Regions from separate parts of the Homo sapiens genome. Here region 2 is linked to region 1. The links are contacts of gene promoters, found by promoter capture Hi-C in human tissues and cell types (Jung and others, 2019). All regions are on one chromosome and are shown on one strand. Each heading gives the region's core, a stretch centred on a gene start or on the middle of the fragment in contact. The rest is flanking DNA. Distances are from core to core; before and after follow the strand shown.

What was found. The method cuts DNA at HindIII sites, captures the fragments that hold promoters and counts their contacts. A contact is called where the count stands out against the background at its distance.
Region 2: a contact is called between a fragment that was not itself captured here and the fragment with the promoter of ZBTB40 in region 1, in 1 of the 25 tissues and cell types used here (H1 embryonic stem cells).

The regions. Positions count from the first base shown.
Region 1 is chr1:22,449,211-22,453,229 of GRCh38, reverse strand. It overlaps ZBTB40 (zinc finger and BTB domain containing 40), which reads right to left and starts at 1,379. Exons shown (of 18, transcript NM_014870.4): 1 at 1,226-1,379. RefSeq lists silencers at 896-985, 1,326-1,525, 1,840-2,134 and enhancers at 1,096-1,175, 889-1,450. The HindIII fragment of the contact is 15,295 bases long and covers 1-4,019 here.
Region 2 is chr1:22,513,075-22,516,905 of GRCh38, reverse strand. ZBTB40 (zinc finger and BTB domain containing 40) reads right to left here. Exons shown (of 18, transcript NM_014870.4): 12 at 3,776-3,831. Among named protein-coding and RNA genes, the nearest start is that of EPHA8, 48 kb to the left of the region's middle. The HindIII fragment of the contact is 7,383 bases long and covers 1-3,831 here.

The DNA.
Region 1 (4,019 bases), core at 130-2,629:
AGTTTGATGATTTAGCTAAGTAGAAAAAAATTTCACTGAGATTGTAATTAAATCTCCATTAACCATACAAAGATCTGGGTACAATTCCAGGGAAGAACAAACAATTCCAGGTAGAAAAGACTTGAAAGAATAAAATCCAAAGCAGTTTGACCGGTGCCATCAGGCAGGGGGCTCCCAGGGACAGGCTCAATTTGGCAGCCCTATAACCTAGTACACCTATACATATATTAACCACTCAGAACAAATTTCTTCCTCGTTTGTAAAATGGAAATACCATACTTACTTATAAAGCGTCGTCATAAAGTAGAACAACACTTGTATGAATATAAATAAAGCACCTGGTTCATTGCAGCACTGGCTGCATGGTACCAACGCTATTCAAAGCAGGAGAAACTCTGAATAGTCAGTAAGACCAGAAGGGAAGCCAGAGTGTTCTGTCAACTAAAGTGCTCTCGGTGCATCGCGCAGTTTTAACTCTTTTCCCACTCCAGAAGAACCGACGAGAGGAATAGCTGAATGACAACACTGATCCAATCTCCTTGTGTTTAGGGCAGGGGTCAGTAAACTTTTGCTGTAAGGGACCAGACAGAAATATTTCTGGCTTTGTGAGCCAGCCGATCAAAGCCAAGCAACGGCTGCGCAACTACTCAGCTCTGCCCTCTTGGCAGGAAAGCAGCCATAGACAATACATCAACAATGAACAGGGCCGTGTTCCAATAAAACTTCATTTATGGACTTGATTTCATAGAACTTTCGCAAATTACATGAAATATTCTTCCCCCTAACCATTTGCAACTGTAAACAAAGACCGAGAGGGGAAGAGAGAAGGGGGGCATGGATTAGGCCCAAGGCCATAGTCCGCTGACGCCCGGCGAAGGGACCTGAAGGGAGGGGGAGTGAGACAGCGACAAGAGGCCTCCGGACGGGCCGAGAGGGAGGTGCGGGGCGACAGCGAGCCCCAGGCGGTGTCAGGTCGGGCCTGGCGCCCTGAGTGGGTCCCCGCGGTCTCTCCCCTCCGCAGTCTACAGCAGAGCCGGCGCCAGGGGTGCGGACCGCCCCTGGAGGGGGCACGTCCGGGGTGTAGGTGAGGCGGCCGTGATTCGGCCGAGTCCCGCGGAGTTCGCCACGCGGAAGGGTCTGTATACACCCCTCATTTAGGGCGCACCCGGGCCCCCGCTGCAGGAAGGGTCTCCACGCGGAGTCCCAGCCCCGTTTCTATGGTTACCTGTTCAGCACCGATTCAAACTGCCGTTCTTTATTGACAGCGCCATAGAGGACACGAACACTCCTGCCCGAAGGGAACAATAAAGCTTTCGCCATTCAACAGCGCCGGAGACGCCAGAAGGCGGCCATCTTGAGGCCGGCGCGCAATGGGTATCAGAGGGGAGGGGGCGGCCCGACCTGCCCCACGCGCCGCGGTCACGTGCTGGGGGCGGGGCCTGCGTCACGCGCTCGCTCTCCACCTATGCTAGGACGGCGGGGGCCGGCTGGTTGCTAGGCTCTTCTCTGACCTCTGACCTTGGCCACTCCCTCCTTCCCTCCCCACACTTCCTAAGTAAAGTTTTTTTCTTTTTTTTTTTTTTGAGATGGGAGATTCGCTCTTGTTTCCCAGGCTGGAGTGTAGCGGCGCGATCTCGCCCCACTGCAGCCTCCGCCTTCCAGGTTCAAGCGATTCTCCTGCCTCAGCCTCCCGAGTAGCTGGGATTACAGGCGCGCGCCACCACGCCCTGCTAATTTTTTTTTTCTCTTCTATTTTTAGTAGAGACAGGATGTCACCATGTTGGCCAGGCTGGTCCCGAACTCCTGAGCCCAGATGATCCACCTGCCTCGGCCTCCCACCATGCCCGGCCCTAAGGAAAGTTCTAATGGAGCTCCGCAGTCTCGCTCCGGCAGCTCTAGGATTAGGATTTTGTTTCAAAGGAGGGCAAGGAAGTGAACACAAAAGGCTTCGTTTTTCCAAAACAACACATTCACGTGCGAGGCGGAGAGGCGACCTGAGCCGCGTCCCCAGCCCGCACTCTTTGTGGGACAGGCTTGGCGCTGGTGGGGCGCAGTGGGCTGAAGGCATCCTGGAGGCATCCTGATCCTGCCTCTCGCACCTCCCAATTTTGGGATTTAGGGGCTTTGGGATTTAGTCCTAGCTTTTCTTTTGCTCATTTTCCTTCTCACACACTATGCGTTCCCTGTTGAAGCGTCCCCTTGCCACCCTTCCTTACACAAACATTTAAATCAGATCCAGCAGTAACAAACTGAGTCACCTCCGCGCTGGCCCACTGAACACAGTCACCCTGTCACTGACATGCAGCCACTTTTTCTGTCCCTGACAGTTACGTGCCCAAATCCAGCCATCTTAGTGCAATGTCCAGCTTCCTCTGTGGTTATACCTTTTCCATCTGCAATGTCAATATTCAGTCGTTCTGAGAGCTGTCTCTGGCTGACTGACTCACCCCATCACCGTTTTACATCACAAATTCAATCTACTGGGCAGAACTGTCACTTGCATTGTTGCTGTCTCCCGGTCGATCATATTTACTGTCACTGTCTGACATGCAGCTACCGTCATTGACCATAAACTTCAAACGGTTCTGTTCAAAATAGCACTTTGTTTGCCCAGCTGTTGCCCTTTCTGTTGTTTTCACTGTCATTGTCATGCAGCCACTTTTGCTGCCACACAGTCAAGCCAGTATTTAACAGGCCCCTTCAGGGTACACTGTTGTCCTCATACCCTTGTGCCCAGTTAGTCACTTTCACTATTATACTCATGTCACCGTTACATTCAGGGTCGGATTTACTGTAGCTGTTATTTAGTCACTTTTGTAGTAACTGGAACCACGCCTACAGCTGTTGTGTCTCCTAAGCCCTCATTTCCACCAGCCTCACATTCTCTTTTAGTGGGAACATAGGGTTGCTAGATTTAGCAAACAAACACCTAGAAGGGTGCTTGGCACATAGTAGGTGCTCTAGAAATATTTATCGAGTTAATGGGATTACAGGTGTGAGCCACTGGGCATTTTGGGAGCATTTTGGGAGGCCGAGGCAGGCGGATCACCTGAGGTCAGGAGTTCGAGACCAGCCTGGCCAACATGGTGAAACCCCCGTCTCTACTAAAAATAGAAAAATTACCTGGGCATGGTGGCAGGTGCCTGTAATCCCAGTTACTCAGGATGCTGAGGCAGGAGAATCGCTTGAACCTGGGAGGCGGAGGTTGGAGTGAGCTGAGATCACGCCACTGCACTCCAGCCTGGGCAACGAGAGCGAGACTCCGTCTCAAAAAAAAAAAAAAGAGAAATATTTATCGAATTAATGGATTTTAAAAAACAGTATCATTGCCAATGTGCTGTATGTGAATGCAGATGGCTTGAAGCTCAGGAGTCTCAATAGGAATAAGTTTTCAGGCACCATCTGTCCCTCCTGTTCCACTTAACAAGACTTCAAATCCTATAGGGACTAAACGAAGAGAGCAAAAGAAAAGTGGCCACCAAGTGTACTCAGTTATTGGGACAGCAGTGACAAAGAAGAGGCTTTCTATAACTTTTTTTAAATGAATACATGCTTATTATAAAATATTTAGGAAATATGGAAAGGAATCTTTCCCTGGGGGGATTGTTTTAGACATCTCCCAACACACCCCACACATGTATCCACAGTCAGTGGATCAGTGGCTGCAGTTTCCCCATCACCATTTACTTAAGGTTTTGCATTAACAGAAGTTCTCATGGGGCTGACTTGCCTACAGTTCATGAACAACGACATACTGTCATGGAGAGCAATGGCTCTGGCTTCTGGCTGGTCATGATATGGAAGAATAAGAAGACAATGGCTAGACCTTCTAGACCTTGTAAGGGCCTCATCTCCCCACAGAGCTTCGACAGCTGCGGAGAAATAACCTGTGCTTCCCGATCACCAGAAGGACCCAAACCTTGACTTTGAGGGGGAGGGTTGAGAACTTTTCAACTTTTTTTCTACTTTAGAAAAGAGTGTTCCCATGCCACCACCCAGTGTAAGATGCCCGAGGTGCC
Region 2 (3,831 bases), core at 1,223-3,722, 63 kb before region 1:
GTGAGAGTCGTGGATTCAGAGAGGAATGAAAGCCTTCTTCCAGTTGCTTGCTATAAAGTTATTATGTGTCCCTTGGTTTCTATATTTTCACATGCATATAATGAGGATATAATGACCAGACTGCCAAAGATTATTAGAAAATGTGGATAAAGAACAAGTCTGGAGAACTGGCATTTGTGAGAAATGCTAGACCAACTGAACCTCCAAGCTCCCTTATGGGCCGAGAGAGCAAGCAGGGCAATTGGTGAGGCATGGCACCAGAACCCCGGATCCCAGGGTCTACCACAACTAGGACAAGCAGCCTCATTTTCAGTGTTTATGTATTGGGCTGCAAAATAAGACTCTGTTAGGAAAAAAAGGGTTCCTTGAATGGAGAGGTGAAATTATTGAGGAGCCTGGGGCTTAGTCCTTGACGTTCTCAATCCTGTTTCTAGATGATCTCTCAGTGCCTCATACACCATCTGTAATGGATGCCTCCTGTAGTATAGCTCCAGCTCCCACCTTTCCCCAGAACTCCAGACCCATATGTCCAACTCCCCACTGCTCTGCTCTCCACCTGGATGTCTAGTAGGTATCTCCCAATGCATCAAATAGGCCACTATTTGTGGTAATTTGTTACAGCAGCAGGATAAACTAACATACTTCACATAAAAACCCAAAGTCCTCATCTGTTTTGGGAGCTCAAAACAGAGCTTCCAATGCTCTATCCCCATCACCCCCACAGCCACCATCCACACACTCCCCCATCTCAGTAAATGGCAGCATCATTCACTCAGTTGCTCATGGCAAAGCCCCAAAGCCTTCAGTTCCTTTAGTTCCTTTCTTTCCTTCACATCCCACATCTAATCCACCATGAGTCCTGTTACCTCCATTTTCAAAAATATATCCTAAAACTTGAACGTTCTTTACAACCCCCACTAACACAACTCTAGTTGAAAACTATATCACCTCTACACTGAACGGCTCTAACAGCCTTCTGTTTCCCTCTTGCCCTACTATAGCTCATTGTCTGGAGTGGCCAGAATTAACTTCTGAAAATGTAAATTAGATCCTACCACTCATTCTCTGCTCAAAACCCTTCTATGGCTTCATGTGGTAGGCGGGATAATGGCCCCCAAAGATGTCCATGTCCTAATTCCTCAAACCTGTGTGTATGTTACCATACATGGCAAAAGGACTTTGTGAATGTGACTGGATTAAGGATCTTGTGATGGGGGGGTTGTCTTGGATTATCCAGGTGGGCTCAATGTAATCGCAAGGGTCCTCATAAGAGGGAGGAAGAAGAGTCAGAAAAGGAGGTATGGTGATGGAGGCAGAGGTTGGGGTGATGTGGCCAAGAGCCAGGGAATGCGGGCAACGTCTAGGGGCTGGAAAGGCAAGGAATGAGATCTCCCCTAGAGCCTCCAGAAGGAACTCTGCCGAAAGCTTGAATTTAGCCTCACAAGACCCATCTTGGATTGCTATCCTCCAGAATGGTAAAAGAGTATATTTGGGTTGTTTTAGGCCAGCATTTGTGGTAATTTGTTACAGCAGCAGGATAAACTAACACACTTCACATAAAAACCAAAAGTCCTCACCTTGGCTTATAAGACCCTCCAAGGTCCAGCCTTTGCTAGCATCTCTGGCCTTATCTCTTAATGCTCTTCCTCGTTGACTCTGCTTTAGCCCCTTCTAGTTTTCTGTGGTCTCTCATGCAGGTAAAGCTCGTTTCCACCGGGGAGGCAGCTCTGCACTTGGGATGCTCTCCTTCTAGGTCTTTCACTGGCTCCATCTCTCACTTTGTTTAGGTTTCTCCACAAATGCCATCTTGCAGAGGCCTTCTCTGATGATACAAATAGTGTCCCCCAAGCCCTGTCCTCTCACTGTGTACCCTGCTTTATGCTTCTTCATAGTAATAACTGCTATCTAAATTTATACTATATATTTATTTGTTTATTGTCAGTTTTACCCAGTGGGATGTAAGTCCCATGACAGGGGTGCGTATATTTATAATACCCCATGTCTGAAACAATGCTTGTGAAATTCATTCACTCAGCAAATATCGATTGAAGGCCTACTATTGCCAAGTACTAGTCTAAGTCCCATGGATACAGCAGTGGGAAAAGAAAGACTAACAGCTTGCCACTCATGACACTTGCATTCTAACAGGGAAGACTAAGCAGAAATAAATTACTAAAGTAGATACTACATCATATGAGAAGCACTATGGGAGAAAAATACTGCATGGAAACCAGGGGTGGGGTGCTGAGACCTTACAGAGGGTGGCCCAGGAAGGGACTCACAGAGAAGGTAAGTGTGAGTAAGGTCTCAAAGGAGGTGAGGAAGTGAAACGTGAGATGTCTGATGGGAAGCGTCCCCAGCAAAGGGAAGGGTAAGAATAAAGGTCCTGGAGCAGGTGCCTGCGGGCCTGAGGCCTGGCCAGAAAGCTAAAATGTGCAGGCCTAAGAGATGAAGTCAGAGAGGAATCAGGAACCTTAATCACAGAGGGCTGAGGAGGCTATCTTAAGGACTCTGGATTTCACAACTGAGTGGGACAAAAAGCCATTGAAGAATTTGGAGCAGAGAAGTGACCTGATAGGGTTTATTTATTTTTTAAGTATCAAGAGAAATGGTGAAAGCAAGACCAGCTTTGAGGCTACTGTGACAGTCCACGTCAAACAATGGTTACCTTATAATTTATAAAGAAATGCTCTAAACAATAGGTAGGCTGCTCCAAAAAGCCTTCCCTGACAATGTACCTCCTCCTCCCCTCCAACTGGACTAGAGACCCCTTCTCCATCCTTCCTCATCACGCTGGTGTTATTCCACATTATACCGCTGACAATCTGCATTGTAACGGGCGCTACACTCCCCTCTCCCTGCCCCCTTCAGGCCACAAGCTATGGGCACACAGGAATCCCAGCTCAGCCACTCGGCATCTGCCACTGTCTGATCCACGGTAGGTGCTTAGTCAGGGTCCTTCTCATGCTTGAACTCGACTTCAAAGCTCAAATAATTTTATGTAAATTCTCTATAACTTTTAATGGCAAAAACCACAATGACTTTTCCACAAGACCTAATATAAAGTCATAGGAGGTTAGCCAGTCTCTTTCAGAAGCTCTCCCAGTAAGCAGTTTACGTCTGTGCACAGAGCTATTCCCAGTCGTCTGTTTGCCTAGAGGTTGTGCATTGTTTTTTAATTTTATTTATTATTATTATTATTTTTGAGACGGAGTCTCACTCTGTTGCCCAGGCTGGAGTGCAGTGGCACAATCTCAGCTCACTGCAAGTTCCACCTCCCAGGTTCACACCATTCTCCTGCCTCAGCCTCCCGAGTAGCTGAGACTCCAGGTGCCCGCCACCACGCCTGGCTAATTTTTTGTATTTTTTAGTACAGATGGGGTTTCACCATGTTAGCCAGGATGGTCTCAATCTCCTGACCTTGTGATCCGCCTGCCTCAGCCTTATTTTTTTTTTGATACTTAACTTTTGTGGGTACACAGTAGGTGTATATATTCACAAGGTACATGTGATGTTGTGCTGCAGGCATGCAATATGAAATAACTGCATCAGGGAGAATGAGAGATCCATCCCCTCCAGCATTTATCCTCTGTGTAATAAATAATCCAAATTACACTGTATTTAAAATGTACAATTAAGTTATTATTGACTTTAGTCACCCTGTTGTGCTATCAAATTGTTTTGTTTTTGAGATATATATCACACCTAATCCAAATGGGGTTTAGGCAGTTCGCAGTGAAAGTCTGCAGGAGAAATGAACTGTGCCCCGCCTTACCTTCTGAGTGCTTCTTCTTGGTGTGATAGGCCAGGGCGGAGGCCTGGGTGAAGGTC